4 separate regions of the Homo sapiens genome follow, and all the other regions are linked to region 3. Evidence: promoter capture Hi-C in 16 types of primary human blood cells and fetal thymus (Javierre and others, 2016). All regions are on one chromosome and are shown on one strand. The core of a region is centred on a gene start or on the middle of the fragment in contact, and the rest is flanking DNA. Distances in the headings are between cores, read along the strand shown. Region 1 holds the start of SKA1 (spindle and kinetochore associated complex subunit 1). Region 2 overlaps MBD1 (methyl-CpG binding domain protein 1). Region 3 holds the start of SMAD2 (SMAD family member 2). Region 4 has its middle 7.5 kb from the start of CXXC1.

What was found. Contacts are between HindIII fragments. The CHiCAGO score rates a contact against its expected background, and 5 or more counts as called.
Region 1: a contact is called between the fragment with the promoter of SKA1 here and the fragment with the promoter of SMAD2 in region 3, in 1 of 17 cell types (neutrophils). The highest score is 7.8, in neutrophils.
Region 2: a contact is called between a fragment that was not itself captured here and the fragment with the promoter of SMAD2 in region 3, in 2 of 17 cell types (neutrophils and naive CD8 T cells). The highest score is 10.7, in neutrophils.
Region 4: a fragment that was not itself captured here is called in contact with the fragment with the promoter of SMAD2 in region 3 in 1 of 17 cell types (neutrophils); the score reaches 7.8 in neutrophils.

The regions. Positions count from the first base shown.
Region 1 is chr18:50,371,309-50,377,450 of GRCh38, reverse strand. SKA1 (spindle and kinetochore associated complex subunit 1) reads right to left here and starts at 2,405. Exons shown (of 7, transcript NM_145060.4): 1 at 2,257-2,405; 2 at 1,533-1,631. The coding sequence starts at 1,620. LOC105372114 (a long non-coding RNA gene) reads left to right here and starts at 2,573. Exons shown (of 3, transcript XR_935466.3): 1 at 2,573-2,856. RefSeq lists a silencer at 3,618-3,912. The HindIII fragment of the contact is 8,258 bases long and covers 1-6,142 here.
Region 2 is chr18:50,268,504-50,273,961 of GRCh38, reverse strand. It overlaps MBD1 (methyl-CpG binding domain protein 1), which reads left to right. Exons shown (of 17, transcript NM_015846.4): 12 at 99-398; 13 at 491-628; 14 at 1,007-1,138; 15 at 1,224-1,285; 16 at 2,422-2,493; 17 at 4,144-5,116. The coding sequence ends at 2,461. Among named protein-coding and RNA genes, the nearest start is that of CFAP53, 4.7 kb to the right of the region's middle. RefSeq lists a silencer at 5,256-5,458. The HindIII fragment of the contact is 1,766 bases long and covers 2,202-3,967 here.
Region 3 is chr18:47,929,165-47,934,584 of GRCh38, reverse strand. It overlaps SMAD2 (SMAD family member 2), which reads left to right and starts at 3,926. Exons shown (of 11, transcript NM_005901.6): 1 at 3,926-4,224. It overlaps LOC124904297 (a long non-coding RNA gene), which reads left to right. Exons shown (of 2, transcript XR_007066360.1): 2 at 93-2,397. RefSeq lists silencers at 3,008-3,937, 3,968-4,497. The HindIII fragment of the contact is 8,478 bases long and covers 1-5,420 here.
Region 4 is chr18:50,292,378-50,298,011 of GRCh38, reverse strand. No RefSeq gene overlaps it. Among named protein-coding and RNA genes, the nearest start is that of CXXC1, 7.5 kb to the right of the region's middle. The HindIII fragment of the contact is 1,003 bases long and covers 3,192-4,194 here.

The sequences.
Region 1 (6,142 bases), core at 1,156-3,655, 2.4 Mb before region 3:
TCCTCCAAAGCAGGCTCTAAGATGGGTTATGAACTACTTTTACCCCTATGGAGCTCTACATCAGTTTTTTTAACTTGCCTTTTAATAATGTGCCACATAACAGTGATTCAGTCAACAATGGACCATAAATATGACAGTGGCCCCATAAGATTATAACGGAGCTGAAACATTCCTATTGCCTTGTGACATCGGAGCCATCATAACATCATGGTACAATGCATTATTCACATGTTTGTGGTGATGCTGGTGTAAACAAACTCTAATGCCAGTATTACAAAAGTACAGCACATACAATTATGTATAGTACATAATAATTGATAATAAATGGTTACTAGTTTATGTTATTTACTATACAATACTTTGTATTGTTATTTTAGAGTGTACTCCTTCTACCTATTAAAAAAAAAAAGTTAACTGTAAAACAGCCTCAGGCAGATCCCTCAGGAGATATTCCAGAAGGCATTGTTATCACAGATGACTGCTCCATGTGTGGTACTGCCCCGATGACCTTCTAGTGGAACAAGATGTGAATGTGGAAGACAGATGTTGATGATCCTGACCCTGCATAGGCCTAGGCTAATGTGTGTGTGTGTGTGTATTCGTTTTTGACAAAAAAATTTTAAAAAGTTAAAAAAAAATAGAAAAAAAGCTCATAAAGATATAAAAATATTTTTGTACACCTGTACAATGTATTTGTTTTAAGCTATTAGAAAAGAATAAAAAAGCTAAGCCAAACTAAGAAGTTTATTAAGTAAAAAAGTTATAGTAAGCTAAGGTTAATGTATTATTGAAGAAAGTTTTTCATTTTTTATAAATTTAGTGTAGCATAAGTGTATAGTACTTATAAAGCCTACAGTAGTATACAGTGATGTCCTAGGCCCTCACAGTCACTGTCTCACCCACAGCAACTTCCAGTTCTGCAAGCTCCATCAATGGTAAGTGGCCTATACAGGTGTTCCATTTTTAATCTTTTACTGTATCTTTTCTATGTTTAGATACACAAATACTCACCATTGTGTTACACTTGCCTAAGGTATTCAGTACAGTCACATGCTATACGGGTTTGTTGCCTAGGAGCAATAGGCTATATAGCCTAGATATGTAGTAGGCTATACCATCTAGGTTTGTGTACATTTACGTACATTCTATGATGTGATGTTTGCACAACGACAAAATCATGTAACGCTTTTGTCAGAACACATCTCCATCATTAAGGAACGCATGACTGTATCTCTATTTAGCTGTAGAACCATGGATGCCACATAACCTTCAAATCTCACCATTGGCCTATGTGTCTCAGAAAAACATAAGTAAATAATTCTAATGAATATTCAGTTCATTGTTCAATGTACCTTACATTTTTAGTATCCTCCACAATATTCAAAATGACATTGGACTATTTAAAAAATCGTTATGCAAAAATCTAAAATTACCTAAGATGCAGTCACTTAACCAAGCAAAGATATCATTCAGAGTGGAATAATCAAAATGCATTTTGTATATACAAAGTCAGTGGAATCTGTTTTACTTACCACAGTTTCTTAATGATAAGGTTTTCTTAATATTGCCAATCTTTTCATTAACATGAGAGCATAATTGTTCCAGATCTGACGAGGCCATCCTTTAAGCCTCTGAAGAAAAAAACATAAACATATTCGTAACAAGAAAAGCCACACAAATTTCTGTTCACTTTCGAAATCCAAGAATGGTCAATGTCAAGTAAATCACATGTCTTTGAAGGTTAAGCACAAAAATTCAAGAGCAATTTCTTTCATTTCTACAACATTCAGTTTCTAACCACGGTACCGTACTGACTTGTCTTAGAGCCTTAGGCCATCGATGGATCCCAAACCAGGGGAAAGAGGATAAGCCTGGGTCCTTTCCTTAAGGATTCAGGAGGACAAACGCACTATTTGTATATAAAGACAACATTGGTATTTTCTTTAAACACGCAAAATAAGGACACATTTTTTAAAAATGTGTTACACTGTCAAAGAAATGGGCCCAGGTAATCATTTTTCCTGTGCTGTGAGGGGTTGGGGCTTTACAGTTTGGGATCGGTAAGGAGGCCGAGAAATGGGAAAGAACCAGTTTCCCACCCACTCCGCCGGTGAGAGAGAAGGGGAGGGTCTAAAGCATCCAACCCAGCCTCCAGCCCCGTCCTCCCCCAAGCCCGGCGCGGTCCGCGGCCCCCAGCTGCCAAGCAGCTACCTCGGGCGCTTCCAAAGGCAGGGTCCCCAACACACAGACTCCAACCTCAAGTCCGTCCGGGAGCAAAAGGCTACTCGCCGCTGGGTCTCCAGCTGCGGATACCGCAGTCTCCGTTGGAAGCCCAGGATGGTGAGACGGGACTCTGTAAGCAAAATTCAAACCGCCCGCCGCGCCCTAGCGCAGCGCAGGCGCACATCCATGCTTCCGAAGCGCAGGCTCAGCCGCTGTTCCCGGTTTGCGTCATCCGGGGCCACAGCTGGGCGGGAAGGAGGGGTGGCCGAGCCGGGGAAAGGCGGGGCGACGGCGAAGGCGGGGCTTCCGGACGAAAGGGTAACCCGGAGGTGCTCTTTCCGCGCTAACCAGTCTGGGGAGATTTCAGCAGGTCATGCAGTCTTGACCGCAGCCCAGCCAGGGACCTGGCGTCACCAAGTCCTGGTCTTTGACATTTGCTGCACCTTAGAGTCACCAGGGGCAGCTATTACAAGTCTCAGTGCCTAGAGTACACCCCAAGTCGGTGAAATCAGACACTGGGGAAATGAGGCACAAGCCTTAGTATTTATAAAAACACCCCAGAAAATTCCAAAGAGCAGCTAAGTTTGTGTGGAAGAAACAGTGACCCTGTCTTCTGGGTCTTAGACAGCCTCTGTAAGTGTTCCCGGGCCAAACCAGGGGTTGGGCTGCTTATTCTCATGATGAACTGGGAAAGAAGAGTTTATTTCGGTAACCGGGTACAGGGAAAAGGCCTGGAAAATATCGCCAAATCGATTCAAAATTACAAAGTTTTCCAGAGCTTATATACCTTCTAAACTATCTGTCTACATGTAAGTGTGCATGTGTGTAAAGACGTAAATGATTAACTGTTTCTAATCTATAACTAAGATCAGTCCTAAGGAAGGTCTTTATTTAAGTAAATTTACTTAATCTAGATGGCTGCAGGTGCCAGAGGTGATTACCCTTATCTTGTCTCCTGCTAAATCATGAAGGTTTGGGCAGTTCCTTCAGACCCCCGATAAACTTGTTTGTGGAGGTCTGGGGGAGTTTCTTCAGACCCCCAATAAAAACTTGTTTAATCTTGAACAGGTCCTGTTAAGAATTCCTTCTTTATTTTCTCATGCTTCAAGGACCAGGAAAGGCCTGGGCAAAACTCTTGGTGGGCTTTTGTTACATACCAGCCTTTCTATAAAGACACTGGCTCTTTCAGCTTTTAATATTTAACTTAACTAGTGCTGAAACAGTGGTTACGGAGGCCTGTCTGTTCAGCTGTTAGTGAGACCTGGCCTGCCACTTAAGAGCAAATATAAATTTAAAATAAGAAAAACAAAAGTTTAATTCTCCCTGTTGAAAAGGAGGGAAAAGCACCCAAGGCTGGAGTGGTGGCACCGCCAGGTTCTGTCCATCCCTTGGCTCCACTGCGCTATTATTATGCACTTGGACCTTCAGGCTGCCAGCCCCTGTCCTCAGGTCTTTCTCCCAGGCAGCAGAAACGAGCAAGAGGCATGTGTAATAGGCTTAACTGCCAACAGAACCAGCACTTTGAGAGCGTTGTGCTGGAAGCCACACCCAGTGGCTTCCATCTGCTTCTCACTGGTCACTCCCATCTGCGAAGGAGACTGAAAAAAATCTTTTGTAAAAAATGTAATCTGGACAGTTACTTTCACTCATGTCCGTATGAAGAGACCACCAAACTGGCCTTTGTGTGAGCAACAAGGCTGTTTATTTCACCTGAGTGCAGGCGGGCTGAGTCCGAAAAGACAGTCAGCTAAGGGAGATAGGGGTGGGGTCGTTTTATAAGATTTGGGTAGGTAAAGGAAAATTACAGTCAAAGGGGGTTGTTCTCTGGCAGGCAGGGGTGGGGGTCACCAGGTGCTCAGTGGGGGAGCTTTTGAGCCAGGATGAGCCAGGAGAAGGAATTTCACAAGGTAATGTCATCAGTTAAGGCAGGAACAGGCCATTTTCACTTCTTTTGAGATTCTTCAGTTACTTCAGGCCATCTGGATGTATACGTGCAGGTCACAGGGGATATGATGACTTAGCTTGGGCTCAGAGGCCTGACAGTTACATTGCATCCTCGAGACTTAAGTTTAGCCTAAAGTTGCCTCCATACATATTTTAAGTTGTGCCTAAAGTTTTCTCTGTAAGTCGCAAACTATAACCTAAATGAAGGTGTAAACAGACTGTAATCTACTCTTGTGCCAGTCACTGAGTTATGGCCGATGAAAGGGGGCCAGCTGCTCAAACCGTGTTCAAATAAGGCAAACACTGACTGTAACCAATCCAGCTGTTGCTATACCTCACTTCCTTTTCTGTACATCACTTCCTTTTTCTGTCTATAAATCTTCCACCACATGGCTGTGCTGAAGTGTCTCTGAACCTACTCCGGCTGGGGAGGCTGCCCGATTGGTGGAATCATTCTTTGTTCAAGTAAACACTGTTAAATTTAATTAGGCTAAAGTTTTTCTTTTAACAGACTATAGGAGTTCTATTTGTAAGGGAGAATGAGAGCATAGATACTGGGTAGGGAAGGAGTTCAGAACACACCACCTCAAAACATGCCACTGTAGCATATTGATTCTTTTGAGTGAAAAGCACTTAAAAAGCAGCAGGTGCAAGAAGGGCACACTGGCCTTCCTTTTTCTTCCTGAAAGCAGAAGATGGAAGTCCCATGTGAGAGATGTCCTCACTACACCAAGAGGAAAGAAACATTCTTATCCCTAGACATGAGAAGTCAAAGACAAGAGACATCTGTACAAACAAAACTTGTTGTGCTTACCGGTATCTTCCTAGTCACTTCTCCATGATTCATTGCCCAAATCTAAGCCCCTTTTTCTTGTCATATTTTCACAATTTACTACTCTGTCCAATATGGTATATAAGCATTTAGCTCTAACTGAATCTTTGGGTCTTCATTTTTCTTGTGAGGATTCCCATGTACAAGTAAAAAAAATTATTAATATTGTATGCTTTTCTCTTGTTAATCTGTACTATTTCAGTTCTGGCCAGAGACCTTAGGAGGGTGGAAGAAAATTGTATCCGTCACTGTATAATTTCCTCATGTTATATCATCACATGAACAATTCTAGATTATTTATGAATTTCATATTTTTCATACCCAGCTGACTTTGAAAGAAAAGATTTTATTTTTATTTTTTGTATTTCTACTTTGTGCTTTTTCTTACAGCTAGGTGTCAAGGTTAACTTCTGGATGTCCCCAAGTCAGAATTAACTAAGAGCCTCATTGTAGAATTAGGATTGAGGATCTCTGTAAGCAACAGGATTGCATTTCTGGGCATTTTGGGAAACATTTATTCTAATGTTTTGACCAATGACAAGTGACCAGCTGGTCCAATAGGTTTTGGGGCAGCTTCATAGATCTCTGGTGCTGATAAGTCTTCATTCAGAAGAGGGAGGGCCCACTGAAATAGATGGGGTGCATTCTGAGATGCCTCACTGATCAGAATTGACCCAAGGCAGATTATATTTTTACATTTCCTATTAATCTACAGTCCTTTGGCTTGTTTTTAAGTCTTTTTCCAGCTGACATAATTAAAATCCATTGCATGTACTTGTAACACAGTACTCACTGGGATAATTTCTTAATTCTCACAAGCAGTCATAGCAGCTGAGACAAATCATTTCAGAAAATCAAACTCTTCCCTTTTTCAATGTCTCATGTCCTCAAATGATATGTAGTTCTTGTGGTGTTGGTTGATTTATTTGCTTTAAACCAGAGAAGAGAGGAAGAAGAAAAATGTCTTACAATTTTCCTGGTGTTCTTTCTTTACCATATTGAGTCTTTATCCAATATATACTTTTTTAGCATTGTAGTCAGAGCCCCAATTTCTGTGCCACCAGAGCTACCCCTAACAAAGGCCCAGTGCTCTGTAATATGAATAGAGGCAGGAAAGGAAAGTACTCAACATGCAAAACTTCT
Region 2 (5,458 bases), core at 1,835-4,334, 2.3 Mb before region 3:
TGGGACTGATGGGAGATTAGCAGGCATGTGGAGCCGGGCAGGGTGGATGTGATTGGTCAGGACACCAGGTAGCCATAGCACCCTATCTTTCCCCATAGAAGCGGCTGCTGCCCAGTGTCTGGTCAGAGTCTGAGGATGGGGCAGGATCGCCCCCACCTTACCGTCGTCGAAAGAGGCCCAGCTCTGCCCGACGGCACCATCTTGGCCCTACCTTGAAGCCCACCTTGGCTACACGCACAGCCCAACCAGACCATACCCAGGCTCCAACGAAGCAGGAAGCAGGTGGTGGCTTTGTGCTGCCCCCGCCTGGCACTGACCTTGTGTTTTTACGGGAAGGCGCAAGCAGTCCTGTGCAGGTGCCGGGCCCTGTTGCAGCTTCCACAGAAGCCCTGTTGCAGGTGAGGGCCCCACCCTGTCCTGCCTTCCCAGCCTCACCCAGCTGCATGCCAGGGAGCTGAGACCAAGTCTGCTGCAATCCTCCCTCACGCAGGAGGCCCAGTGCTCTGGCCTGAGTTGGGTTGTGGCCTTACCCCAGGTGAAGCAAGAGAAGGCGGATACCCAGGACGAGTGGACACCAGGCACAGCTGTCCTGACTTCTCCCGTATTGGTGCCTGGCTGCCCTAGCAAGGTGGGGGCAGTGATGGATGTTCTGTTGGTGCCGTAGCGGAGTGGTCTGTAAGCAGAGTGATGATGAGCCATGATGGTTCTCTTGAGCAGAGCAATAGATGTGCTGATTGCGACGTTTCTGCAGAATTACCCCGCCTGTCTAACAGACACCCTACCTCCCACAGGCAACTAGCTTTGCCCGCTTTGCTATCCAGCTAACAGAAAAACGGAGGTCAGTGAGGAATGGGAATGGGAAAGCTTTGTAGGCAGAGAGATGGACTTTCTGTGTTGAAATGTGATGGAAGTAGGATTTGTCAGCACAGTGAGGGGTTGGCTGATAGAGACTTTCCTCAGGTGAACTCTGCCCTTCTAATGGTTGCCTGTTTCCTACTTCTCCCAGGCAGTAGACCCAGGCCTGCCTTCTGTGAAGCAAGAGCCACCTGACCCAGAGGAGGACAAGGAGGAGAACAAGGATGATTCTGCCTCCAAATTGGCCCCAGAGGAAGAGGCAGGAGGGGCTGGCACACCCGTGGTCAGTGCTGGGGATGCCCCACCCTGCCCTGACCCTGCTGTAGCCCCAACAACCACATTGACCTATGGTGTTAATTCTTCTCTAGATCACGGAGATTTTCAGCCTGGGTGGAACCCGCTTCCGAGATACAGCAGTCTGGTTGCCAAGGTGTGCCCCACACAGTGAGGGGTGGGGAAGGAGTGGGTGTTGGCCAGATGTGGGCCCTGAGTTTTGAAAGTATAGCCGGCAGTTTGGCATGGTGTGGTGGGAGGTAAAGGCCCATACCCACTATGCTGGTCACAATTAATGAGGGGCGTGTGTGTAGGACCCTAGAGATTTCTCCTGAGATCCAGCCCAATAGCATTCCAGGTTAGGACTCTCCTTTGGGGGTAGGGGAAAGACTTGGTACTCTATCATGAGATTTGAAAGAAAAAGATAGGGAGTCTGGTCCCTATTTTCCTAAGGAATTTCTATAGGGGTCAGCTTTAATATATAAATTCTTATTCAGAGAATAATCATTTGGGTCTTGAAGGCCTTTAGAGTCTCCAGGAGACCTCTGGGTGGGCTGTTGCCTGACATTGAGCAATGTGTACCAGAGAAATGGTGCTGGGCTTGCCTGGGCAGTGGTATGGGCAGGAGATCTGGGTTCCGAGCTGGCTTTGTGAGCTGGGTTCACACGTAGTTGTGTGATCTCTGGTTGCCCTGCACTTCCTGGAGCGGCCTCTGTGGAAGGGCTTGGGCTGGATCTCTTGAGCCTTTCCTGAGCCTATTGAGGTTATTAACTTCAGATGCCTTGCAGAACTGTCCCTGTAGTCCTGGCATAGAACAAAGGGTAGATGCCTGTAAGGACTAGGGTGGTTGGGAGGACAGAGGAGTGCTGGCTCCTGCAGAATATTGACAGACCCTGCATAGAGCCCCAGACACTGGCGATGTAAACTATTGGCCTAAGCACTTGGATTCCTTTGCTCCTACAAACCAGCCCACCAGGCTAGAAACCCTTTCATCTATACTTGGCCAATTACAGAAGTATTGATTGAGTTCCTGTTGGGTGCACAGCATTGAGGACAATGAGCCCTGCAAAGCTTACCCTTCAGGAGACACAGGATACCTACCTTCAGGGAGCTTATAATCTGACTATGTACAAGCTGTCTATAATGGTAGTTTTTAGAAGATATAAAAAAAGATAAAGGATAATTAAGGGGAAGTGGATGGAGGACACAGAATAGTAGGAAATGGTTTTGTAATGCTCCATTGCGCACATAGCAAACCTCATTCAACATACAGACCTGCTCCCTTTTCCCTAGGTCCAAAGACCTTAAAAAACCTGGAGCTAGAAAGCAGTAGACTGGAGGCTTCTACAGACTGTAGGATTCAAGGTGATATTTGCAGACTGGCTTTATGAGAGACAACACTGATCTACTAGGGGCTGGACCCTAGATTGGTTGCCAGGGCTTGTGTGTGAATCAACCCTAGGAGGAAAAACCTACTACCAAACCAGAAGAGCAGGCCTAAGAGTACTTTGAGCTTCTAGAAGAAGTAAGCGGGAAAGGAAGAGAAAGAGTAGAAAGTTGGTGCATCTTCTCCTCCCCAAGAGCCTGAGTATAAGAAGTTGGATTTTAAGGGTGGGGGAGCTGGGTTGGAGAAAGGTAATATAATTAAAGCCACCACAAAACAACCTAAACAAGCCATGTTCATGAGTAATTGTAAGTGGCTTCTGGATGAGACCTGGCAGTGTCTCTACATACTTCCTCAGGGAGATAGCAATTGAAAATGTAATTGAATAAATAAGGAAAGGAACTGCTATTTGGTGTGTTCCTCTGTGGACCCAGTTTATTTAATCCTTAAAATAATATTTTTGGGAAGACATTGATTTTGTCCATTTATGTGGATGGGAAAACTGAGACTCATTAATTTGTCCAATGTCGAACAGCTGGTGTTAGTAGAGCCTAGACTCAAACCCAGCTTTTAAAGCCCTTGTTCTTTACTCCACTAAACTGTAACCTGTAATCCTGTATGCACTAACAGGAGTTTTCGGTGACCTTGAAAACACAGATTACTATAATTACTATAATAAATCCCTTACATTCCTGTCTCTAGCATGGTTTAGGGAGTGCCAAGGCTCAATGTAGATGGGGTCACCTTGTCAGAGCATCTGTTCATACAGAAACTGGGTTTCCTGCAGACCCCAGGTGCTGCATAGGATTCCTCAAACCCTACAGGATATATCTCCCCACTGGCTGCTGTCCATTTTGCTTGTTACCCTGACTCCCCCTCTTCAGCCAGAGCAGTCTTTGTAACTAAAGCTGCCAGCCTGGCTCATCTTTCCTGACAACGTGCATCTCCTGCCCTGTGATCACCTTTGTGCTTGGCTCCTGCCCTCAGCCTGAATGTGTTCTAGGAGGCTGAATTCCTGCTTCGAGTCCTGCCCAAGAGCCAGTCTTGGCTCAGCCCTACCTCACTCTCTCCCAATTCTTCATTCATAAAGTGCCAAAAAGATTAGACCTGTAATTTGTTAGCCAGCTTTACAGGGCCAGGACTGAGTGAGTGCCTCCTTAAACTTTGTATCCTGTGTGCCTCCCTTGCCTTACCCTAGTCCCAGCCCTGCAGCTTTAAGTAATTCAGACATGGATTAGCCATTTCCCAGTTCTGTCTCATACAGTCCAGCCTCTGCCACCTTCCCCACCCCTTCCTTTATTCCATCCTAACTAGTTCAGCCCTAGTCAAGACTGGATAGACTGATACTGCTTTGTTTCCCCCAGGAACCAACCACCCAACCCCAGTATTCTGGTAATTTTGACAATGATCTATATGAAATTTATTTGATTGACATTTAGACTCATGAGTTAAGCTTCTGCTGACCATTTATGTTAGGGTACAATCAGAGGAGCAGAACCACTAAGATAAAGATTATGTATATATGTATTTTAAGGGATTTATTATAGGGATCTGACCGCATGCCATTGTGGGAGCTGGTTAAACAGTCTCTGTAAGGCTGTTGTCTTTGCATCTAATGCTGGAGCTTGAAGTCTGCAGGGCAGGCACTCGGGAAGGGAAGATGGATGTAAAGTGTGGGAGACCGAGGACACAGTGGAGCCCACGAGCACGAGCTGGAACCCACGAGGATGGCCTGGAACCCATGTCAGTCTCTCACCACCTCCAGCTTCGATGATGTGGGTGTCCTGCAGAAGAAGCTGGTGCCCTTCCTCACAGAGTTAAATATGCATCTGGCCCAGGAATTAGAGAAGCTGAAAGGATGATCCTGGGGAAGGTGGAGCAGCTGCAGGCCTGGCTGCAGGCCTGACTACTGCCCACACCAACGAGGTGATCTAGCAGATACATGGCAACGTGTGAACTGCAACAACGCCTGGTGCCCCAGCACCAACCTTCCAAGTGTAAAAACAATGTGCTGCTGCTTCACTTCCGCCCTCCGGTTATCAAGCAAAATGTCTCTTGTGGCCCATCTTACTGGAAGAGAGTTCCGGGAAACATAGCCTCACCAAGGTGACACATTACAAAGCCACCCTACCATGAATCCGCTCCCAAGGGTCTCACTGCTCACCTGAGGATAACTCAATATAACTATGTGGCTGAAAATGCAAAGCTGAAGACCATGGATTTCATGGTGATTCCAGCAAGTACAGAGATTCTATGAAGCCCACCCAGAAAAAACTTGCTGGTCCTGGCTATTTTTGTGTCATTTATTCAAGTATTGAGAACCTGGCCTGTGGTAGGCACTGTACTTAATACTAGGATACAGAAATGCAAAAGATACGGCCCATGCAATTTTATTAAATGCATCAATATGTATTACAAATGGTGAATGGATTTCCAACTTTATCATGGAATTTAATGCTGAATATATAGAATTCAGAAAATTGTTGGGAGGACAGCCCTTTTGTGAACCTTGTTTGGGGCACAGTAGGAATTGGAAATAATTTAGTTTCTATCTCTAAGCTGTTCTATTTTAAAATTATTTTTAAATTTTTATTGTCCCACTTACTTACATGCTTAGTGTTTCTTTTGGGAGTGGTTTGGTGGGAACAGTGTTGACTGCCTCTGAGAAACTGGGATAGTGGGTGGGAAGATCAAATCAAGGTCACTTCTTTCCAAGGACCCTGAGCGATTCACTTACCTAGGCCGCGGGGGCGGGGGGTTGGCTGAAGGCTGAGGCTCTTGGTGCTCAGCACTGGCCGGACACCTTCAACCTGCTGGTGGGTCCGCCAGGGGGCGCCGGGGCGAGAAAGCCCGTAGTTCCCAGCCACAGTCACCCACCGGGGCCCTGGAGGCACCGCTCGTCACCCATCACCCCTGGCCTGGCCGCCCTGGGGCGTGGTCTCCGTC
Region 3 (5,420 bases), core at 2,677-5,176:
TACAAATGCTGTATTTCATCTTTCTTCAATTACTTAGTATTTTGGTAAGGGTAGGGGAAGACAAGTGAAAATAAGTTGTCCTTGTCCTTCAGGAACTTACAATCTAGATGGGGAGACAATATATATACACAGGAGAAGCTGGAAAAAAAAACTGCTCAAGACTAAATGAATGGTATGTATATCATCGTAAGTATAAGAGAGAAAATTCATATGTGAATGGTATAGCTTTGGGCTGGGGAAGCCAGAAAGGGCTTTAAAGATTTACCAGAAGGGGAGAATATGAGTTGTTTTTTGAAAGATCATGACTGTGTGTGTGTGGTGTGTGTGTGTGTGTGTCTTTGTATGTATGGATAGAGAGTTCAATGAATAAATGAGGGTACTGAAGCTCTATACAGAGCTTCCAAGGATGAGCAGAGGTTGGTCAGGCACCATAGGGCAAGTGCTTTCTAGCAGAACAAAGAGCACAGCATAGGCACTGGGGAACGAGAGAACATGGTGATTAGGGAAACTGTCAGGAGTTCATTCTGGCTGGGGAAAAGGGAGCAAGGTGGGGAGTGTTGAGATGTGACACTACAGAGACTGGCCTGGGATGGATCATTAAGGATCTTTTAGGTTATGCTAAACAGTCTTGATTTTACCCTGGGGAAAAAAAAACTGGAAGAAGGAAACTATCAATCAAGGTAGTGATATCAGATTTACATTTAGAAAATATGCTATTAAAAAAAATTCTGGCAGCAGGAAGGAGGATGAATTGGAAGGCAGCAAGAGTGGAGGCAAGAAGACCAGCTGAGGAGCTAAAGCAGTACTTCCAATGAAAGACAATGAAGTCTGAACCAAGGCAGTGAGCTTTTTCAAAAAAATCAAACTACAGAAGAAATAATGATGAAATTTAAATTTTCCACTTATGACCCTCAGGCTCTTTCCAGAAGCAACCACCATTATCATTTTTCTTTCGTGTCTTTCCAGTGCACTTAACTACTTTTGAATTGGATTCTGAATTGATTTGGATGTAATTGATTTTGCAGTGTCATGTTTAATGAAGGGTTAAACTTGGTCTCTATCCATATAAAAATAAGACTCATTCAATCTAATTTATACAATAGGGACCTACTGATAGATCTTGAGGTACCCTAGTGGATTTCCAAGCTGTTTGTTGCCATAGCAATCCCTGCTCTATGTGCCTTCAGTTTCTGTCTTGACCCACTTTGGTTTAGATGCATTTCTAGCAGAGGGGACAGTAGGCATGCTCCCATTTCTAAGCCCCTTGGGGACTGCATTGGTAGCCAGATTGTCCCTTCTCCCTCTTCCTCAATTGTAGATCCTGGAAGGCTTCCTAAATGGAAGAGTTATGGACCCAAAGTCTGAGACTTTGGAGAAATGGTCTAACTTAGACCTCAGGCGTACTACCCACTTAATTAATGTAACCTCAAAGTACCTAACTTCCATACTAGGAGCACATTCTGGAATCCCAGCCAGGCCTGCTTTGGTTCCTATTTCTACTACTCAGGTGGACACCCAAATCCACACCCTGTTCACACAGGAGAAAATACTTGTGTGACCAGGGTAGCTTTTAATATGCTACTTCATATTACAACTGTTGACTTGTATTAGCAGGAAGACAGACCAAAAACAAGAAACAGCCTTCCTACTTGTAAGTTGAACAGCCTTTGCCCTGGACCGTCCTCCCTAGTGGCTCTGGAAAGAGGAAACAAGGCAGAGGAGGTGGGACAGCTCCACCAAATGGCTTCCTGGGTGTCCTTCACAAACTTTTTTATTTTTATTAAGGGGTTAGTAGAGCTGCCTCTAAACTAACAATGGAAGAAACCACCCTGGAAGGGAATTTTTGGAGGAAGAATTTCTGCTGAGTAGGTTCGTCTCAGCATAAATGTTCGCACGCAACAGAAGAGAAGTTAATGATCACTGACTTTCCTTGAACTTCAAAGCCCTATGTTATTTACTTTCATATTTATTATTTAATCATCACACAACTATATTTAAGTAGGTATCGTTGCAGGTGAGTTCCATTTGCCAAAGATTACAGATCTGGAACAGAGTCGTACTCAAAGCTACAACGTGCCTGACTCCTGGGTTTATGCTCTTCATCGCAACCTTCCCGTGAGAAAAGTTCCTCTATGTGTGAGGACAGAGACGGTGGAAAGGACAGAGATTTTGAAAGGACATCTGGAAAACTTGTATGACTCAGGGGATGGCCACATCTCTCTTAAGGTCCATCTGAAGGCACCCTCCTCTGGGACACGTTCATTTCTCAGAAGAAAGCGTATACTTCAAAAACTCTTACTGTTTGGAGTGCTCATTTGGTACTTCCTGATTACCGATTTGTATTGCTAGTGCTTCTTTCCCGCTTATTTGAAGTCCCCAATTAAATCTATAAACTAAGCCACACATGAGAATGAATTACTGGACAGGCAGCCAAAAAAAAACTGTGTTCTAGTCTTGTCTCTGGCACCTGTGTGAAACCTAAGTTTCTTTTCAACTTTAGTTCTACGGTACTCCCTGCCTGTGTCACAGTGGGTGCATAGTAAACACCTGATGTGATTAGTTGGGCTCAATATTTTGTCAGCAGAGGCTTGGGTGTTCCTAAGGGTAACCGCAACAAGGTTTTCCCTGGGTGCAGTTATGTTCTGGGCAGCCGTAAGTTTAGGGCCTTGCTGCCTCCTGTAGGGCAGATGTGCAAGTTGGGGCCTAATCGTCGCAACAGTGGAGAAAAGGGGAAGGGAAGATATCCCAGCCATTAAGGGACATCGTGACAGATGTTTCTTTTAGACTTCACAAAGACCCTTCGGGACATGGATTATTGATATCATTTTTACTGAAGACGGAACCAAAATTTAGGTTAAACACTTATACCTGGCATCCCCTACCCGGGCCCTAAGTGCTCTCCAAAGACCCCACCTCTGGGCTTATTTACATCGCGAACCCGCCCTCGTTCAGCAACACGAGGGCCCCGCCCGCTCATTTGCATAGGGCGCGCCCAGTCACGGGCCGGGTCCTCGGGCTTCTCCCGAACCCCTTTTCTCTCTCAGGCGCGTCCTCCGCGCTGCGCGGGGCCTCCCCGTGGGATGAGCACGTGTCCGCTGCCGGCCTCACGACGGACGGTGGACGAGGCGGCAGGCCCCTACAGGCCCCACCCACGACGCTGGCGAGGGATCGGGCGGTCACCGGGAATCGTCTTAATGCGCGGCAAGGCGCGGGCCTCTCCCTCTCCGCCCGTGAGCCCCGGTGGGAGCGCGCCGGCGCCCAACTCAAGCGAAACCGCGGGCGTCCCGCCCCGCCCGGCCGCGCCCCGCCTCGCCTCACGCTAGACTGGGGAGGCGGGACCAATCAGCGAGCGACGTCTCCCTTCCGATTCGAGGCCCCCGATGCGCGGCTCACACCCCGAGCTTCCCTCGTGCTGATTGGCTGCGGGCGCCGCCGGTCCGGCCGGGAGGCGGGGCGGGCCGTAGGCAAAGGGAGGTGGGGAGGCGGTGGCCGGCGACTCCCCGCGCCCCGCTCGCCCCCCGGCCCTTCCCGCGGTGCTCGGCCTCGTTCCTTTCCTCCTCCGCTCCCTCCGTCTTCCATACCCGCCCCGCGCGGCTTTCGGCCGGCGTGCCTCGCGCCCTAACGGGCGGCTGGAGGCGCCAATCAGCGGGCGGCAGGGTGCCAGCCCCGGGGCTGCGCCGGCGAATCGGCGGGGCCCGCGGCCCAGGGTGGCAGGCGGGTCTACCCGCGCGGCCGCGGCGGCGGAGAAGCAGCTCGCCAGCCAGCAGCCCGCCAGCCGCCGGGAGGTGGGTGCGTGGCGCCGCGGCGGCCGGCGGCCGAGGGCGGAGGGCGGAAGCGGAGGTGGGCTGGCGGGGGAGGGCGCGGCCGTGCGGGCGGCCGGTAGGGCTGCGGGCGCGCGCCTGAGGGGAGGAGGGGCAGCGCGGGCGCGCGCGTCCTCACCCCCTCCTTCCCCGCGGGCGGCGGCCAGGCTCCCTCCCCTCCCCTTCCCTCTCCTCCCCTCCCCTCCCCTCTCTTCCCCTACCCTCCCGCGCGCCCGGGCCGCCGGCCGGGCCCGGGCCTGGGGGCGGGGCGGGAAGACGGCGGCCGGGAGTGTTTTCAGTTCCGCCTCCAATCGCCCATTCCCCTCTTCCCCTCCCAGCCCCCTCCATCCCATCGGAAGAGGAAGGAACAAAAGGTCCCGGACCCCCCGGATCTGACGGGGCGGGACCTGGCGCCACCTTGCAGGTAAAGCCTGGGCGCCCGCGGGCCTCCAGCTAGGGAAGTGTTTGCGTGCGTCCGCGGCCGGGGCGATGGGCCGTGTCACATGGCCGCTGCGGGTGGGGGCTGGGGTGTGGTGAGTTCGGGGGCTGTGGGTGCGCCGGCCCGGGCGTGCGGGTTCGGGGCCGGAGAGCCGGGAAGGGACGGGGCTCGGTTGCACTGCGCTGCCGCCCAGGCTGACGGGGGCGGGGGCTGCCTGCGTCCCTTCCCCTCGCTGCTCTCACACTCCATAGTTTGTGGTTCTGATTTTTAAAGCCGAAGGGCCAGAGCTCTTGTTTCAGGAGTTGTGGGGAAGCCTTGTTAGGGACGCGTAATACTTTGCCTCCACTTTTTTTTTTTGGTCTCGTAACCTTTGTTAACAGTGGTAGTCTCGGGTTTTCCATGGCTTGTGTGTACTCACAAACACGCACACAGCTGATAACTCTGTGATCATCCTTCACTCACTTGTGAAAGTTGTTCTGCGGGTGGAGCCTATTAGTTTTTATCACACGCCTTTGGAAAGCCCTCGAAGTGATTTCTCGTATTTCAAACTTGGTTTTTAAAATTGCAACTTACTTTGTTCTCTTGGAGGGGGATATTGTCTTTGGGTCAGGTACTTTTGTCTTTTACTTATCCTTAAAATGTCCTTTTGATCCTAAACAGAAAAAGAATGCCTGGGTTGGTTTTGTTATTCCTTTCTCTTGACCCTTTAAAAGCAAAATACCACCAGTGTGTTGTCAACCATACCTTTAAAAAAGAAATTTCCAGGTAAAACGAATTTGCAAGCAGCATTTTCCATCAAAGTCATGTCTTGTTTGTTGCAATTTGGACTATCTTAAATTTGGGTTTGTGAAACTTTTAAAACGACATGTGTAAAATAATTGTTAATAAATAAATAACTTGGAATAATTACATCTTTTTAGAAATGGTCTTTGAAATGTGATTTAATTTCCAAAATTCTTTTTCTCTCTTCTGACTTCATATGAATTGAACCTGATAGTTTCGTATGAATGAATCGCTGATAGGATGTTTTCCTTGAGCCTAGTAATAAATTTGCTCTTATTATGCTGAAAATTTGCTATTCTACTTTAACACCCTTTAAAAAGTTTCCATCTTACAGAGAAGTTAGTCAAATAGTTAAATGGAGTTTCAACAGTTTTAATACATGAATTAGTGAAGCAGAT
Region 4 (5,634 bases), core at 2,444-4,943, 2.4 Mb before region 3:
CCAGAATGCAGTATCCCTAAAGCCTCTGCAGTCCCTGCGATTGTGGGATCCTGACTATGTCAGGATTTTGGCTTTGCAGGGTGTGGCAAGGTGAAGGGTCTGGTACTCCCTCTTGGGGGTCGTGGAGCGTTGGGGGTGGGTGTGGAGAAGGAGGCTTGGGGAGGAAGGGAGTTAGTGACCTGGGCCCAAGACCCTAGAGACTTGTCCAGGTGCCCCCACTCCCAGGCCCAACCAGCCCAGCCCTACTGGACTGGCAGTGAGGGCTCACTTTAAGAGGAAAGGGTGACGTCCCATGTTACTAAGTCAGACTTAATATTATTAAGGTGGCAATACTCCTGAAATTGTTCTACGCATTCAACGCAACTCCTGTCTCCAAGCTGACTTTTTTTGCAAAATTAGACAAGCCGATCCTCAAATTTACATGAAAATTTAAGGGACCCAAAATAGCCAAAATAATATTGAAAAAGAACAAAGTTGGAGGACTCACATTTCCCAGTTTCAAAATTCTATAAAGCCACAGTAATCAAGACATACAGATACTCAGTACTGGCATAAGGATAGACATATAAATCAATAGAATAGAATTGAAAGTCCAGAAATGAACCCTCATATTATGGTCAATTGATTTGATTTTTCTCTCCCTCCCTCCCTCCCTTCCTTTCTTCCTTCCTTCCTTCCTTCCTTCTTTCCTTCGTTCCTTCCTTCTCTCCCTCCCTCCCTTCTTTCTTTCTTTCTTTGTTTCTTTCTTTCTCCTCCTTCCTTCCTTCCTTCCTTTCCTTCCTTCTTTCTTTCTTTCTTTCTTTCTTTCTTTCTTTCTTTCTTTCTTTCTTTCTCTCTTTTCTTTCTTTCTTTTTCTTTTTTGATACAGGGTCTTGCTCTTGCCTGGGGCTGGAGTGCAGGGTGAAGTCACACCTCATTGCAGCCTCAACCTCCCAGACTCAAGCAATCCTCCCACCTCAGCAGGCATATATAAATGGAATCATCGAAATTTAAAATTTGCACTTCAAAGAACACCATCAAGAAAGTGAAGACAACCCAGAGAATGGGAGAAAATATTTGCAATCATATATCTGATAAAGGACATGTATACAGAATTTTGTAAAACTATTACAACTGAATAATAAGAACAAATAACACAATGAAAAAAATAGGCAAAGTATTTGGTTAGATAGTTCTCCAAAGAAGATATATAATGGCCAATAAACACATGAAAAGATGCCGAACATCATTAGCCATCAGGGAAATGCAAATCAAAACGACAGTAAGATACCACTTCCCACCTACTAGCTTGACCGTAATCCAGAAGACAGATTACAAGTATTGGAAAGGATGTGAAGAAATTACAACTTTCATAACTTGCTGGCAGGAATGTAAAATGGTGCAACCATTTTGGAAAACAGTCTGGCAGTTTCTTCAGTCAGTAAAACATACCATATGACCCAGCAATTCCACCCCTAGTTGTATACTTAAGAGAAATGAAAATGTGTGCACCAAGAACTTGTATATGAATGTTCATAGCTGCAAAATCCATAACAGTCATTATGTGGAAACAACCTAAATGTCTATCAGCTGATGTATGAATAAACAAAACATGCTATGTTCATACAATGGAATATTGTTTGGCCATAGTAAGAAATGGTACCAATACATGCTACAATGTGAATGAACCTTAAAAACATGCTAAGTGAAAGAAGTCAGTCACAGAAAACCACATATAATATGATTCTATTGATATGAAATATCCAGAATAGGCAAATATACAGAGATAGAAAGATTAGTGGTTGCCTATGGGGAGGGGCTTGGGGAGTGGTATCTAAATGGTGCAGTTTCTTTTGGAGGTAGTGAAAGAGTTCTAAAAAATGACTGGGAGGCCAGGTGCATGGCTCAGGCCTGTAATCCCAGCACTTTTGAAGGCTGAGGCAGGAGGATTGCTCGAGCCAAGGAGATCAAGATCAGCCTAGGCAACATAGCGAGACCCCATCTCTATAAAAAAAATTAATTAAAGGAAAAAGATGATCAGGGCAGTAAATACACAAGTCTGTGATTATACTAAAACCATTGAAATGTAAACTTTTAATGGGTAAATTGCATAGTATTTGGATTATATCTGAATAAAGCTGTTTTTAGAAAAATACTCGATGCCTTTCACTAGCGTTCGGAAAGATTTATTTAAATGCATAAAGATTGGTTAATAGAAAAAAGTGGGTTTTGAAAGAAGGAACCCCTTTTTTTTAAGGAAAGGGGTGTGATAGGATTTGAAAGATGAGGAAAGCTAATGAGGGCCCCTAATTCCCCCACCCCACATCTCTCATAGGCCAGATTTAAAATATACAAATTCCATACCTGGAGAATTATCATTGGGATCGTGAACACTTTTACTCTCCCCTAGACTCCCAGGATAGTTGTCCCCTTGCTATGTGTAGTGTGTGACATGGAAAAGGGGATTGGCCCAGGCAGGAGACAGTGCCTGAATAGGTGGTTAACCAGCCATGTGTTCCTGGGTTCCTGCTGCTCTAAGTGACTCTTGAGATTTTCCTGAGCCTGCTTGATTTGATTGTAATTGAATTGTGAGAACTTGCTGTGTAGAGTTGGTCCTGCAGGCTTGGAAATGGGAACAGCAGGTACCTTCAAGGACAGAAACAGTGAAGGAGGCCTGGGGAATGCTGCGTGCTGCAGATTATTGATGGGCCTTCCACAGTACTCCAGACGAAGGCAACTTAAACTGTTGGTCAAGCACCTCTATTCTGTTGTTCCTTCAAACCAACCCCGAGAAGCCACATTAAAAACCCCCTTTGCACATAGACAATTACAGAGATGGTAATGAAACCAATTCTGTGTTCACAGCACTGCAGGAAACACAACTGTGGATTCAATTCACCTTGTGTGGTTTACTCTTCAAGAGATGCTTAGTTCTTACCTTCAGGGAGTTTATAATTTCATTGAGGAAACAACTTGCTCATATATGAAACCATTGCAGATTAACAAAATTACAGGAGTGTTCTGGTGTCTGTAACGGCAACTTTTGGAAGAGAACACAGGGATAATCAAGAAAAAAAATTATCATGAACACAGACCAGTACCAAAGGGTTTTATAATGCTCCATTTTGTGTATGACAAACCTCAGATTTGCTCTGTCTTCTGTAGGACCAAGGACATCATGATCTGGGGCTAAAAAACACAAACTGGAAGCTTCTGCAGGCTATAAAATTCAAGGTGATATTTACAGATGAGCTTTGCGATGGATAGAAACTGACCTATTCAGGATAGAAATTGGTTCGTAGGAGTTGGGTAGGAATAAAAAGTAGAAGAATCTACCACCAAACCAGAGAAGCAAGCCTATTTAATTCTTTTTGGTTTTTTCAGAGGGCGTAAGTGGGAAAGGAAGAAGTCAGATTAGAAAACTGGTGCACTTGTTCCTCTCTAGGAACCTGAGTGTGATAAGAAATGTGGGCCAGGTGCGGTGGCTCACACCTGTAATGCCAGCACTTTGGGAGGCTAAGGTGGACAGATCACCTGAGGTCAGGAGTTCGAGACTAGCCTGGCCAACATGGTGAAACCCCATCTCCACTAAAAATATACAAATTAGCTGGGTGTGGTGGTGGGCACCTCTAATCCCAGCTACTCAGGAGGCTGAGGCAGGAGAATCACTTGAACCTGGGAGGCGGAGGTTGTAGTGAGCTGAGATTGCATCACTGCACTCCAGCCTGGGTGACAAAAGTGAGACTCTATCTAGAAAAAAAAAAAGAAATGTGGCTGTTAGGGACGGGGAAGCTGTAGTAGGGAGGGAGCAGATTAGAATTAAAGCTACTAAACAAGTCCTCCTCATCAATGATATTAAATGACTGGTTCATGACATTTGGCAGTCTTTAAACATTTCAGAGACATCAGCTTGAAAGTATAATATATGAGGAAAAAGGATATTTGTGTCAGGTGTCCTAAGACCATCCTCAGGTTCAATGACTCACTAGAAGAACACACAGAATACAAAAACACTGCTAAGCTCCCAATTAGTTTGTTACAGCAAAAGAATACAGATTGAATGAGCAAAAAGGCTCATAGGCTATAGTACAGGAAAGACCATGCTTCCAGTTCTCCTCTCCTAGAGGAGTCATATAAACAGCACTTAATTATCCCAGAAACAGTGTTGTGATAACATGAATGAAGTATTGCAAACCAGGGAAGCTCATCCAAGCTTTGGTGTCCAGGGTTTTTATTAGGGGATTGGTTACATGAGTATGGAGGGTGCCATTGCTGACCTTGGTTACTCAGTCTCCGGCCTCTCCAGAGTTCATATTGATACCCTGTGGCCCAAGGTCCCCACCACAAATCACATTGCTATCATAAACTATCTGGTGTGGACCAAGATCCTAGGTAAATATAAACATTCTTTTTTTCTTTTTGAGACAGAGTCTTGCTCTGTCATCCAGGCTGGAGTGCAATGGCGTGATCTGGGCTCACTGCAGCCTCCACCTCCTGAGTTCAAGCAATTCTCCTGCCTCAACCTCCTGAGTAAGTGGGATTACAGGCACCCGCCACCACACCTGGCTAATTTTTGTATTTTTAGTAGAGACAGGGTTTACCCATCTTGGCCAGGCTGGTCTTGAACTCCTGACCTCAGGTGATCCACCCACCTTGGCCTACCAAAGTGCTGGGATTACAGATGTGAGCCACTGTGCCCAGCTGAACATTCTTATTAGGCAAGTAATTCTGAGCACTTTAAGGTTATCTCCCAAGAGCCAGTCAAATATCAGATTTTTTTTTCATGTGAAGGTTTGAACAACCAAGGCCTGCTGAGTTAATCTTTTACCGCATGGCACTATTTGGAGAGTTCCCATTCTGGACCTAATTCATATTATTCTCTCAGATGTCTTTCTAGGAGGATGTTAATTTTGCCCATTTTTATAGATGAGAAAAAGTTCTCAGAAAGATTAACTACACTCTGCAATGTAAAGCAGCTAGTATTAGTAGAGCCTAGAATCAAACTCAAGCTGTAACACTTTGTTCTTGAAGGCATGAACTGTAAAATATACCTCTAAAAACTATGACTTAAGATATTGCAATAGCCACAGAATATTTCAGTGTCATTGAAAACATAAGATAGATATTGAATCCCTTGGTCTTATTTTTCTGGCATGTTTCAGCAAATTCTGCCTGAATTTGTGCCTGAATGGACATTAACCTCATGAGAGACCTACAATAGTTCCTTTGCATTCAGAGTCTGAGTTCTTTCCAGACTAGGGATGCTGCATAGAATGGCCTGGGCTCTAAATATATCCCTCCCACTGGCTGCTGTTTTTGCTGATTCTCAAGTCCACTCTCCCCTGGGCCAAAGTGGTTGTCAGTACCACCGTCACCCATCCTGGCTCCTCCCTGCTCCTTATTCAATTCACCTGCACTTGAATGACTTCTAGGCTTGGTTCCTGCTCTCAGCCCCTGTGTCCATTTGGAGAGTGAGTACCTGCTTTGATTCTTGCCCAAGGTCCAGTCTTGACCCAGTCCCTGCCTCCCGCAATCACAAAATGCCAGAAAGATTAGAGGGCCACAGTCTGTTTTTCATACTGTTTTAGACCATTGTGATATGGCTTAGTCACTTCCCAGTTCTAACTCAATGGGACCTAGCCCTCTGCTACACCC